Linked DNA regions of Homo sapiens: regions 1, 3, 4 and 5 are each linked to region 2. The links are contacts of gene promoters, found by promoter capture Hi-C in blood cells and fetal thymus (Javierre and others, 2016). All regions are on one chromosome and are shown on one strand. The core of a region is centred on a gene start or on the middle of the fragment in contact, and the rest is flanking DNA. Distances in the headings are between cores, read along the strand shown.

What was found. The method cuts DNA at HindIII sites, captures the fragments that hold promoters and counts their contacts. A CHiCAGO score of 5 or more calls a contact.
Region 1: a contact is called between a fragment that was not itself captured here and the fragment with the promoter of PKHD1L1 in region 2, in 1 of 17 cell types (total B cells). The highest score is 5.6, in total B cells.
Region 3: a contact is called between a fragment that was not itself captured here and the fragment with the promoter of PKHD1L1 in region 2, in 1 of 17 cell types (total B cells). The highest score is 6.9, in total B cells.
Region 4: a contact is called between a fragment that was not itself captured here and the fragment with the promoter of PKHD1L1 in region 2, in 1 of 17 cell types (total B cells). The highest score is 6.6, in total B cells.
Region 5: a contact is called between a fragment that was not itself captured here and the fragment with the promoter of PKHD1L1 in region 2, in 2 of 17 cell types (total B cells and naive B cells). The highest score is 6.0, in total B cells.

The regions. Positions count from the first base shown.
Region 1 is chr8:109,671,431-109,674,130 of GRCh38, reverse strand. It overlaps a transcript of SYBU not described here. Among named protein-coding and RNA genes, the nearest start is that of SYBU, 28 kb to the right of the region's middle. The HindIII fragment of the contact is 3,125 bases long and covers 1-2,700 here.
Region 2 is chr8:109,361,031-109,363,730 of GRCh38, reverse strand. It overlaps PKHD1L1 (PKHD1 like 1), which reads right to left and starts at 1,270. Exons shown (of 78, transcript NM_177531.6): 1 at 1,078-1,270. The coding sequence starts at 1,150. The HindIII fragment of the contact is 8,587 bases long and covers 1-2,375 here.
Region 3 is chr8:109,701,943-109,704,642 of GRCh38, reverse strand. No RefSeq gene overlaps it. Among named protein-coding and RNA genes, the nearest start is that of SYBU, 58 kb to the right of the region's middle. The HindIII fragment of the contact is 4,683 bases long and covers 1-2,700 here.
Region 4 is chr8:108,901,930-108,904,629 of GRCh38, reverse strand. All of the region lies in intron 3 of LOC101927413 (a long non-coding RNA gene), which reads left to right. Among named protein-coding and RNA genes, the nearest start is that of TMEM74, 120 kb to the right of the region's middle. The HindIII fragment of the contact is 1,603 bases long and covers 553-2,155 here.
Region 5 is chr8:109,653,491-109,656,190 of GRCh38, reverse strand. It overlaps a transcript of SYBU not described here. Among named protein-coding and RNA genes, the nearest start is that of SYBU, 10 kb to the right of the region's middle. The HindIII fragment of the contact is 7,372 bases long and covers 1-2,700 here.

The DNA.
Region 1 (2,700 bases), core at 9-2,508, 310 kb before region 2:
AAGTTCTCCTGGATAATATCCTGAAGAGTGTTTTCCAACTTGGTTCCATTATCCCCATCAGTTTCAGGTACACCAATCAAAAGTAGGTTTGATCTTTTCACATAGTCCCATATTTCTTGGAGGCTTTGTTTGTTCCTTTTCATTCTTTTTTCTCTAATCTTGTCTTCATGCTTTATTTCATTAAGTTGATCTTCAATCTCTGATATATCTTCTGCTATATCAATTTGGCTATTGATACTTGTGTATGCTTCACAAAGTTCTTGTGATGTGTTTTTCAGCTCCATCAGGTCTTTCATGTTCTTCTCTAAACTGGTTATTCTAGTTAGCAATTCCTCTAACGTTTTTTCAAGGTTCTTAGCTTCCTTGCATTGGGTTAGAACATGCTCCTTTAGCTCGGAGGAGTTTCTCATTACCCACCTTCTGAAGCCTATTTCTGTCAATTCGTCAAATATATTCCCTGTTCGGTTTTGTTCCCTTGCTGGCGAGGAGTTGTGATCCTTTGGAGAAGAAAAGGCAATCTGGTTTTTGGAATTTTCAGCCTTTTTGCACTTTTTCCTCATCTTGGTAGATTTATCTACCTTTGGTCTTTGATGCTGGTGATTCTTGTATGGTGTTTTTGTGTGGATGTTCTTTATGTTGATGTTGATGCTATTTCTTTCTGCTTGTTAGTTTTCCTTCTAACAGTCAGGCCCCTCTGTTGCAGGTCTGCCGGAGTTGGCTGGAGGTCCACTCCAGACTCTGTTTGCCTGGGTATCACCAGCGGAGGCTGCAGAACAGCAAAGATTGCTGCCTGTTCCTTCCCCTGGGAGCTTCATCCCAGAGGGGCACCCGCCAAATGCCAGCCGGAGCTCACCTGTATGAGGTGTCTGTTCACACTTGCTGGGAGGTGTCTCCCAGTCAGGAGGCACGGGGGTCAGGAACTCACTTGAGGAGGCAGTCTGTCCCTTAGCAGAGCTCGAGTGCTGTGCTGGGAGATCCATTGCTCTCTTCAGAGCCAGCAGGCAGGAACGTTTAAGTCTGCTGAAGCTGTGTCCACAGCCGCCCCTTCCCCCAGGTGCTCTGTCCGAGAGAGTTGGGCATTTTATATATAAGCCCCTGAGTGGGGCTGCTGCTTTTCTTTCAGAGATGCCCTGTCCAGAGAGGAGGAACCCAAAGAGGCAGTCTGGCTACAACAGCTTTGTGGTGCTGTGGTGGGCTCCACCCAGTCCAAACTTCCCAGTGGCTTTGTTTACACTGTGTGGGGAAAATCACCTACTCAAGCCTCAGTAATGGCAGATGCCCCTCCCCCCACCAAGCTCCAGCATCCTAGGTTGACTTCAGACTGCTGTGCTGGCAGCGAGAATTTAAAGCCAGTGGATCTTAGCTTGCTGGGCTCTGTGGCGGTGGGATCTGCTGAGCTAGACCACTTGGGTCCCTGGCTTCAGCCCCCTTTCCAGGGGAGGGAACGGTTCTGTCTCGCTGGCATTCCAGGAGCCACTGGGTTTGAAAAAATGACTCCTTCAGCTAGCTCGCTGTCTCCCCAAACAGCCATCTAGTTTTGTGCTTGAAACCTAAAGCCCTGGTGGTGTAGGCTTCCAAGGGAATCTCCTGGTCTGTGGGTTGTGAAGACCATGGGAAAAGCATAGTATCTGGGCCTCAATGCACCATTCCTTATGGCACAGTCCCTCACAGCTTCCCTTAGCTAGGGCAGGGAGTTCCCCAACCCATTGCGCTTCCCAGGTGAGGCAATGCTCCACCTTGCTTTAGCTTGCCCTCTGTGGGCTGCACCCACTGTCTAACCAGCCCCAATGAGATGAGCTGGGTACCTCAGTTGGAAATGCAGAAATCACCCACCTTCTGTGTTGATCTCGCTGGGAGCTGCAGACCGGAGCTGTTCCTATTCCGTCATCTTGCCAGCCACCCCCAGCTTTTAAATTACATAATGTATTTTGGCTGGGCTTGGTGGCTCACACCTGTAATCCCAGCACTTCGGGAGGCCAAACCAGGTGGATCACCTGAGGTCGGGATTTCAAGACCAGTCTGAGAAACATGGAGAAACTCCATCTCTACTAAAAATACAAAATTAGCTGGGCATGGTGGCACATGCATATAATCCTAGTTACTCAGGAGGCTGAGGCAGGAGAATCGCTTGAAACTGGGAGGCAGAGATTGCAATGAGCTGAGATCATGCCATTGCACTCCAGCCTGGGCAACAAGAGCGAAACTCCATCTCAAAAACAAAACAAAAAAAATTCATTTTGACTTCATAAATGAGTTTTTCAAAAAGGTTTACACTAATAACTCATTTTTAATTCAAGTAGAGAGAAACATGCCATCCTCATTTTTATAACTAAATATTTATAAAGTACCCATAGCATCTTTTGTGCATATTAAGTCATAGGCCTAAATCAGTTGTACCTTCTTGCAAGAAGCCTAAATCCAATTTAAATAAATGATATGAACCCTACCAAAATTGAATTAGAGATTGGCTTATTTTCATATTTCAGAAAATAATATTTCTGAAACACATTGAACAAAACTAGTTTGAAACATTTCAAATGCTTTAATCGCTCAAAGTATTTTAGGGTAAGGTGCTGTTGGCCTAATTCATGTGGCCAAAAATTAAATTGCAGTGGAACTTAGAACCCACAAGAGCATTACTATAGGAATATATCTGAGGAGGGCCATCTGCCATCCTCAATGAGCTTCCCTCCAGCCCCC
Region 2 (2,700 bases), core at 21-2,520:
ATAGAGGGAACTGCCCGGGCAAACAGGATTGTGTGAGCTGCTTCTTTGGAGTATTGCAAATAATTCTTTAAAACAACTCAAAGCTACACAGTGGATAGAGGTGTTTATTTTCTGCTTACACTGTACAGATCTAGTAATTGCTGGAATCCTAAAAGAAATTTTCACAGTAGGTAGAAAAATTTAAGGGATGATACAAAGAAAGGCCACAGAAATTATTAATTTCTCAAAATGGATGTATATAAAAAGGCTAAGGGAATTATGATTGGCTTGTTCAGTTCTGTCTTAAAAAGGTTTAGAGTGGACTTCACCTATAGTAGCAAAAGCTCTCCAACATAAAGGAGACCAGTTCCGAGGCCCCAGACCCAGTGCCTCTGTACCTCGGGTCTGTCTTTGCCAAGAGCTCCAAGGTGTTCTTATTCCCGCACATTCATATCTCAGGGCAGCCCAAGAGTAGGAAACTCCAGCGGGGAAGCTGGATCCTATCTCCAGACAGTGCTGCTCCTCGCCTATCTCAGGTTCATCCTCCTGTTATCTCCACAGACAACTCCAATTTCTTATCTTATCAGTCTCTTCCCAGCCCTCTTCTGGGTATTACTTTGAAAACACAGGGCAGCTGCCCCTGGAAATGACTGACACCTGCCACGAAGTCCCATCCCCGTCCTACTGGGGGTTGTTGCCCTTTCTGTTGTGAGGAAAGCGACCCAAGAAGAATGGAGGAAAAGGGACTCAGGTTGCCTCTTCCCAGTCCCCACTCCCCCGCCAAATTTCAGTCTACTTGTGTCACTTTGTGGGTGCCGGTGGGAGATTTCATCATTCAAGTAGCAGCATTGATGAGTTAAAAGGCAATCTCTCGCAATCTCTTTCTCTGTGTCCTTGTCTCTGTTTCTCTCTCTCTGCGTCTGTCTCTGTTTGCTAGGCCTGCTATCCAGCTCCCCTGGTCCCCAGGATCGTCATGCAACCGCACCCACAGCCTCAGCCAGGTGCCAGGTGGTCCTGCCTCTCCCAGGACCCCGGGAGCAGGGGTAGTGTCTACGCGGGCCTCTCCTGCTTGCCTGCCTAGCGTGCCCAAAGGGTTACCTGTGCTGGGATCCGCGGCACACAGGAGCAGCCCACAGAGGCCCCAAATACCCAGGAGCCACAGGTGTCCCATTGAAAAGCCAGTTCTGCGGAGTTGGTGCCCTCCGCTCGCAGCTGGCTCTAGTGCTGGAGCTCGGCTCCTGGGACTGCGACTCGCTGGCGGGCCCGCTTCGTCCCGGGAGAGCTGGGGAACTGGGCCGCCCTCCCGTGGCCTGCCCCGCCCCTGCTGTCGGGCTGCTCCTCTGGGATTTGCATGCGCGCGCGGACACACACACACACACACACCCTGGAACCTTCGCGGGAGAACCAAGCCGGCCCCGAGCCAGTCCGTGATAATCAAACCTCCACACTCAAACCTGGGTGCTGCCTTCCCAAGGCTGTCCCCATAGGTGGAAGGGCCTTACTCCTTTTGGCGAAAGGAATCAATGGTCATTGAGGTCTCCCTAGGTCTCCTTCTCTATTTTCTTTTTGTTTTTTTTCTTTTCTTTTCTTTTCTCTCTTTCCCCGCGTACTTTCATCTGCCTGTCTGCCTTGGTCATTAATCCTCCCCAGGTGGGCCTATAAGACCACCTAATACACAAACCCCACGCGTGTTTACCCCTTCACATTCATATGAGATTGTGCTCTCTCTTTAATTGACAATCAGTAGACTTAGGGCGAAGGCTTACTGTTGGCATGGAGGGAGGTCCAGCACTGCTGACCTGTTTCTGGGATGCCAGATAGCAGACGAATGAAACGCAAGTTTCTCTGACCTCCCTGGAGAAGGCAGTTTATTATTCACCACTGAATGCTCCCCAGGGGCTAATTCCAAATCCTCTCACTGTTCTTAATATCTTAACCTCAGGATCTCTTGATTGCCCACCTCTCCCTACTCTTTAAAAGGTGAGAAGGGGCTGGGCACAGCGGCTCACGCCTGTAATTCCACCACTTTGGGAGGCCGAGGTGGGCGGATCGCTTGAGGTCAAGAGTTCGAGACCAGACTGGCTGACATGGTGAAACACCATCTCTACTAAAAATACAAAAATTAGCCTGGTGGGGTGGCGCATGCCTTGTAATCCTAGCTACTTGGGATGCTGAGGCAGGAGAATTGCTTGAAGCCGGGAGGCGGAGGTTGCAGTGAGCTGAGATCACACCCCTGCACTCCAACCTGGGCGACATAGTGAGACTCCGTCTCAAAAACAAACAACAAAAAAAGATGAGAAGATCCACCTACCTAGTTTGCAGTTTCTACATTTTAAAATGTTATGTGTTTTTAAAAGATATTAAAAGATTATTACCCAAATAGCAATGCATAAGCTTCTATTGGATCCTGGTTTGTAAAAAATAATAATAATAATATAAAGCTATGAAGGACGTTTGCAGAACAAATTAGGGAAAGTGAATATGGATTAAGTAACAAGTATTGAAAGATATTATAGAAGCGTTCATTTTATTAGGTATAATAGTGGTATCATACTTTAGTCAAAGAGTGTTTTCAAGTGATGGAATTGCATGATGAGGTATTTGGGGTCATAGTGTCTTTATGTCTGGAATTTACTTCAAAATGGTTTTGCTGAAAAAAAATCTGGCAAATTTTAAACAATGTTTGAATTTAAGTGTAGGTATGATCCTTTGCACTTTTTT
Region 3 (2,700 bases), core at 168-2,667, 340 kb before region 2:
TTAAGGCCTGAGAGGCAAGAACACAAAGTTCCATGCACTGTGCTTAGTACAGGAATACAAAAACTGAGGGGTCCTGCTTCAGAAAAGCTCACAGTCACTGGAAGTGAGTGGCATACAAATGCATGAATATGTGTGGGATAAGTATATTATTTAAAAATATTATTAAAAAGGTATAATAGAAATCAGAAAGATTTCCAAGAAGCAATACTAGAACTGTTGGTGAAGGCAGACAAGGCCATTCACGGCAGAGAAAACTGCATATGAAAAGTGTAGGGGAAGTTATCCACTCTCTCTTTGGAAGCTCCTGTTTCAGATCATCAACAGGGACTACGGAAACTGAAACATGACTGAAAAATATGTCAGATAATATGATTTTAAAAGAATAATGAAACTTGGAGAGTAATTTCATCCACTCGTTGATTCACTCAACCGAATAACAATGTTTGAATATCTTTGATTGTCAAGCCTTGTGCTAGACAGTGGGTATACCAGGATAAAAACAAAGTCCCCAAAAATCTTATTGTCTAGCAGAGGTGGCAAAGATAGAATTACTGCAATATGATGCACTAAGTCCTATGATACAGTTAACATCAGGGTGTCAAGGAAGACTTCCTAAAGAAGAGGACGTCTTGAAGAATTCATAAGAGTTCTCTCACCGTTTTGTGAGAGAAGATGTGGCATGGCTGAGAATTTGGAAGTAATTCAATATGGCTGGAGTGTATATTGTGAGGTTAGAAAGAGTGGAACGTTGAGCCTGGTGAGATAGACAAGAAAACTAATGAAAATCCATGTTAAAATGTCTGGATTTTATTCAAAATATAAATTTCTCTGACTTCAAATAATTTCAAGTGCTGCATCCAAGAATCTGCAGCAGAAAATGCAAGATGACGTAGAATGCCAAATAACCCATATGAATTCAGCCTCATGTTTGCCCATATATGATCAAAGATTCTGGTTAAAAATAAACTGGTTTAGACCCAATCCTAAAAATATAGGAGACCTCTTACTGATCGGGCAGATGTAACTCCAAATATTTACATCAAATTTATTTTGTCTGTTGCAGGAGTTGTTTTTGATAAATCATCTCAAGAAAGTCTACGAAGATGACATTAAGGGATTTAGACAAATCTAACTCTATACCACATTAATTTAAAACAATACAAGTAAAACCTATAAATCTTTTAAAATCATGGATGAGTAAAATAAAGAATTACCACACTCAACAGGAACAGTATTTTGCTTTCACTACAAAATAGTTAGGGATGACTATCTTTTAATAACCATGCCCTCTAACTATTTGATTATATGATTCCTGGTTAAGGGAATAGTCATAGTGAAGATTGTAAGGAAAAACATTTAAATATTCTATCCCTTTTTCTAGCCACATTTCCACATATTTAATTTCTTTCATACTCTTAGGATGCTGGAAAAAAATCTACAACTGAGTGGTTTCAAAACACCACACATTTACGATATGCAGCCTCAGCTGGCCTAGGCTCCATGCCCTGACCAGAATGCCTTAGTCAGCTCCTTTTCTTACTTCCCTCAGCAGCTTTGCCAAACTTTCACCTCTTTACCCAAGTCTTTTTATTCATTTGCATCAAATTGCCTTGCTCTTATTCACTGGATGTAGGAAATGAGTGTGAGAGGTTACATTTGCAGTCACCTAAAGACTGCAAGAATAGCAGACAGCCAGGGAAAACCACATTTAAGGAATAAGTGGATGGTGATTTGCCCTTAGAAAAGACTGAAAAAGGAGAGGATAGAAAATTAGAAGGTAACCAGAAGTTTTATTATTACAAAACCAAAGGAAAAAAATATTTTTAAGAAAGAAGTAGAAAGCAGAACCAAAGGCTGCAATGAGATTAAGTGAGTTAAGGGCCGAAAGTGTTCACCGAATGTGGCAATGTTGTGATCACAGAAAGTAGTGAATTTATTTTAAATACTTTCAACTGAGTGATAAGAATAGAAACCAGTTTTTAATTGGCTAAGCAACAAATAAGGGTAACAAAAGAGGAAAGGCAACGTGATACTACTCTTTCAAGAAGGTTGTTGTGAAACAAGGTGATGTCATGACTGATGAGAGGAATGGAGAACTAAAGGAAGGTTATGGATATGGCAATGGTGGTGATTGTGGTAAAGCTGGTGAAGTAGATAGCAGAGTTGATGTTGGAGGTGATAGTGGAGGTGATATAGGTGGAGATGGTAGCAGCAGTGGTGGTCTTGGAGGTGATAAAGGTAGTGGGAATGAACATGGTGGAGGTGGTGGAGGTACAGTGGTCACGGGGTGGTGATGGTTTAAATGATGATGAAGGTGGTCAAAGTGATGACAGTTAAGCCAAAGGTAATGGAAATAGTAAAGGCGGAGGTGATGGTGGTAGTGGTGGTGATGGTAGTAATGATAGTAGAAATGAAAATAGTAGTTTAAAATATAGGAAACTCTTGAGTATGTTTAGCCACTAAGGTAAAAAAGCCAGTAAGAGAGACAGAATAGAGAAAAAGAATAATTGAGTAGGCCCCAGAGGAAAATAGACAAAGAAGTTACAGCACCGATAGAAGAACTAAACTGCAAAACCATCTTCCATAGTTAAAATTCCCATACCAAACTACCTGCAGCCCTCCAAATGTATCATGGGGTCCTATGCCTGCCGCTCTGCCTTTGTACATGGTGCTATATCCTCTATCTAGGACACCTTTCTC
Region 4 (2,700 bases), core at 105-2,604, 460 kb after region 2:
CAGTTCATAACTCACAAGTAGGCACTTAATAAATATTTTTAATGGTGATAGATGTCTTGAGGAAACTTTACCTGAGTAGCACTCATTCTCTTTTTTTCTTCTAGAATTACCACTTCTTGAGACAAGTTTTACAACTGTATCTCATTTCAAAGCCTAGTTTCTTTTCTTATTAATGATATACCAGTCAGTATTTGATTTGGTTTCTATTTTGGGGCTTGATATAATAATAGAATCTATGTGACTGTGAATGCAAGGAGAATTTATGTATACTGTTCCCTATACACTGCAGGAAGTCAAATGGGTTACCAATAGTGTCTTAGATAGAGTCTAAATCTACACATTCCCCCAGTAGTTTATAATTTTGGTGTTATCAGACTCCTTTCGCCGTAACTATACTTCCTTACTTATCTAGCTTATGCCTCCAAGACTACTAGAGTCTTGATTGTTTCTCTCCCTTACTTCTGTGATTCTTGGCTTAATAAGTTGTCCTGAGCAATAAATTCTTCTTAGCTGATGTTTTTCCAGTGAAAGGTAGAAATATGTCACAAAGCTTTCTTTGAACAGTGTAGCATAATGGAGAGGTGGCTGAGATGATTATACAAGTCAGACTAGAATAAATGCTACATTTGAAATATAAACAAAGTGCTTGTGAGTTTCCAGGAGTGAGAACAATTAATCTTGATAAAGGGGATTAGAAAGACTATGCAGAAAACATTTCAGTTTTGCAAAGAAATACAAGATTTCAACATGCAGAAAGGCAAAGGAGGACATTGTAGGTTAAAAACAAACAAACAAACAAACATTATGAACAAGAAAATCTGAACAAGTCATTTTCTAGGTGACCAGGGGAGGAAGCAGAAGTTGAAACTGAAAAGGCTTTGGGTCCAGGATGTGAAAGGCCTTAAATGACAGACTAAGGAATCTGGATTGTATTCCACTGGGGGAAACCAGATAATATTTTTAGAGTAATAAAATGATATTTACATTTCAATTACTCTGGAAATGTAAAGGATGAATTGGAGCAAGTTTCAGAAGGCAGGCATGGAAGAGACAATATTGCTTGCCAAACATCCAGACAATTCTCCATATTTTCCTTTGGAGTGTGTGACTAAATTCTTACCAATAGGATTTGAGAAATGATGTACACCTGTCCTGATAGTTTTTGAATTATATATCTTAAACTTATGTTATTGGCTCATCGTTATATTTTCCATGTGAATTTGATACCTTTCTCTTTATGAAAATTTCCTCTTTAACTGTAACATGCTGTTTTTCTGAAAGCCCATTAGTGTGCTTTTTTGTATGCTATTTGTATGCTTTAGAACAGCTATCTGCTTTTTTTTGAAACAGAGTCTCGCTCTGTTGCCCAGGCTGGAGTGCAGTGGCACAATCTCGGCTCACTGCAACCTCTGCCTCCTGGGTTCAAGTAATTCTCCTGTCTCAGCCTCTGGAATAGCTGGGGTTACAGGTGTGCGCCACTACACCTGGCTAATTTTTGTATTTTTAGTAGAGACAGGGTTTCACCATGTTGGCCAGGCTGATCTCAAACTCCTGACCTCGGGTGATCCGCCTGCCTCAGCCTCCCAAAGTGCTGGGATTATAGGTGTGAACCACTGTGCCCGACCTCTGCCTTTCTTTTGGTTAGTGTTGCAGAGAAACTTTCTTTTATGATTCTGGGTAGTTAAGATTTTCTTAGCAAATCTTACTCAAACTTGGGACCTGAAGTGAAACAAGTTTGGAAGGTTATATGATTGGCTAGATAGTGAGAGAACTCTAGAGATCTCTGTTTTAGAAACCTTGTGTGTGCATGCAGGGCAATATAAATAAACACAAATTAAAAATTTAAAATATGGTATATATATTTTCTTCTTGTTCTTCTATTTCTGGTGTATCTATTTTTAAAAAATTTTAACCCAATCAATTAATCTTTGTCTTTTAATTGAAAAATTTAGCCTGTTTAAATTAATAGACATAGTTGCTTTTAAATCTATGTTAGTTATCTGTATTAATTATCTATCTCATCTATTTTACCATGCCTTTGCTCTTCTTGCTATTTTATGATTAAATATTTCTATTATTGTATTTCCTATTTATTAGCTTGTTAGTTATGTTTTTCTGATTAGTATTCTTATTAGGTTTTTCTTGTCTATAAGCTTGTTAGCCATGTAATATTTTACTATTATTTTGATGGTTGCCATGGAGACTACAATATGCATCCTTGAATTTTTAAACCCCCATATATATGAGAGGTTCCATGGTTCCCATGGAACACTTAACTCCATTTACCATCTTCTCATCATTTTAGAATTGTTTTCATGCGTTAACTAAACAAGTATTTTAAAATGACTAACATATTACAATTGTTTCTATAGTCAATATTCATTTAAATTTACTCTTGTGCCCACTCTTTACATCATTTCTCATTTCCTCCTACATATCTGTGCTTCCATGTGGAATTACATACCTGCCATGTGAATAATTCATTTTAATAATTCTTTTAGCATAGGTCTTCTGGGATAAATGCTGTTAGTTTTTGTTTCTTTCGAAAGGTTTTTTATTTTGCCTTTAATTGTGAAGGATATTTTACTCGGTATAGAATTTCTGAGTTGGTAGTAATTTTGTTTCAAGACTTCAACGATCTTCAATGTCTTCTGGATTTCATGCTTATAAAATGTCAATATTATTATTACTCCTTTTAAG
Region 5 (2,700 bases), core at 66-2,565, 290 kb before region 2:
ACTCTCTTGCCAAAGTAACCATTTTCAAGTTTAAAAATAGGTCTACCTAGATGGTGTGTAATTTTTTTTTTTTTTGAGACGGAGTCTCGCTCTGTTGTCCAGTCTGGAGTGCAGTGGCATGATTTCATCTCACTGCAACCTCCGCTTCCTGGGTTCAAGCGATTCTCCTGCCTCAGCCTCCGGAGTAGCTGAGATTACAGGCACATGTCACCACGCCTGGCTAATTTTTTATATTTTTAGTAGAGATGGGGTTTCCCCATGTTGGCCAGGCTGGTCTCAAACTCCTGACCTCAAATGATCTGCCCACCTCGGCCTCCCAAAGTGCTGGGATTACAGGCGTGAGCCACCACGCCTGGTCTAGATCATATGTAAATTTGAAACTACACATTATCCTGAGTTTGTTATAACAAGAAAAATACAGCAACGCAACTATATGAATATGTGAAAAATATAAATGACAGTGTCTTGTAAAATAAATTCTCACTTAGAATTGTTTTCTATTTTAATACTAAAAATCCAATAAGTGGTAGAAGAAAGCAGGAGGAAAAACTATAACAAGGAATCATGGGGATACTTTTTCAAAGAGTATTCTTTGAATTCTCACTCAAGAGAAATGAGTCCACTAAAATAATGAAGCTAAGATTAATATTTTATAATACATAGGATGAAATGTATGTATTTTCTTTGGCAGAAGCCTTTCAAGTTATACCAATTTGGAAGTCATTATTTCACTTGGTCACTTAAAAATTCTTTTGAATTGCTATTCAACTCATGTTACAAGCCCAAAAGCAAACACAGCTTCTATGTTCATCATAGCTTTAATGTAACTTTATCTTTCCATTATAGTTCCCTAAAAAGTATTTTCGAAGCCGAAAATCATTTTATCCTATTTCACACTCAAGACAGGAGCAAATGCCATGACTCTGGCAAATCAAATTATCCAGTGAATATACCCGAAAGGCAAAAGGAACTGGACGGTGCTGGGAGATGGAGGTTGAAGATTGGGAGGTGTGTTCAAGGTAGAGGGAACATTTGTGAACGTCAAAGGCGGAATGCAAGGATTAAATCATGAGGGATCTTGTAAGCTATGCATTAGTGGATGAAGTTTATCTTGAGACTGGTAGTGAGCATTGAAAGATTTCATTTGAGGCTAGAGAGATAGGATGGGGAAGGAATGATCAGATCTGCACTTTAAAGAGACTATTGTGGCCACTGTTCAAAAATGAACTGAACGGGACAAGTGTGGGGGACAGGTTAGAAATCTAGGCAGGAAGAGGTGGTAGAGAAATGAACACATTTTAAAGATAATTAGGAAGTAGAACAGATAGGACTTAGGTTCCAATTAGTTGTAATGGTTAAGGGGAGACAGAAAAGTTAAGAATGTCACCCAGGTGTCAGGGTCTTCATGATGATATTGTTTATCAACTTAGGGAACACAGAAGTAAAATCAGCTTTTAGAGGAAGTATGATGAATTCAATTTGGAATGTAGTGAGTTTGTGGACCCTGTGAGATATAAAGTTGAGATATCCAAATTAACTATGGGATAATCATGGAATAGAGGTAAGCAGTTATATAATTTCTATAAGATCTGCCTGTAAATAGCAATTGAAGCAATTGGAAAGAAAGATATTGCCCCAAGAGGGAAGGATGGATGAAAGAATAAAAGGGTGAGGGCTTGAAAGTGAGCAAAAGCAACATTTAAGAAATGAGCTAAAAGGATACCAAGAAGTAGGGGAAGATCAGGAGGGCAATGTTCCAGAAAAAATGAAAGTGCTTTTCAAAAATGTGCGAGTATTTCACTATGCAAAGGCTGATGAGAAGCCAAGACTAAGATCAAAACTAGCCATCAGATTAAACCAAATGGAAGAATTTGTGACTTTGAGCAAGAGCTATTTGGTAGAGCTGTGAGTACATGAGTGGAGTAGGGATTGGTTCAAGGAGCAGGGAAGTGTGAGACATATACTCTAGACAAGTAACTTTTTCAGACGTTTGGTGATGAATGGGGATAAGAAATCAGGTTGTACTAGAAATATATGAGAGCTTTGGATGGTCATTTATTTCACTGGAAAAGTTTTTGGCATGTTTAAATGCTGATGTGAAATGTCCAGTAAAAAAAATGGATTAAAGTTATAAAAAAAAATAGCTAACGTTCATTGAGTGCTTAGTGTGTGCAGGGTGCTCTTCCATGTTCTTTATGGTTATTAACTCCTCTGATACTCTCAATAATCCTATGAGAGACTAACTGATAGGATAATATGCCTTAAGAGATGGGAAAGAATGGGATCCAGAGTTCAGGTAAACGAATTTTTCTTGTATAGGAAGAAACACAACTTCCATCCTAAAGAACCAGAAATGGGAAGGATGGGGTGGAGGCAGGTGAATTTATAGGTTTGGAGGCAGGAGATTGAGAGAGTTCTCTTAATACCTCCTATTTTTGTCTGTCAATCAGGAGAAATGGCCATCTGTACAACATGAGGGCAGGGGTGGTAGGCTGGTAGATTTGAAGTATGGAGGAGATTTAAAATAGACATTGTGGAGAATAGGAGAGAACATGCACTAGAAGCCCAAAATGATTGCCAGGCAGCACTGAGGCCCACTGCAGGTGAAAAGCAAGAGCATGCAGTGTCATTCATCCACAGGGTTGTGGGGTTTTCCCACCATGCTCAGCTTCGGGTCATAGGAGAGGCAGTGCTGTTAAG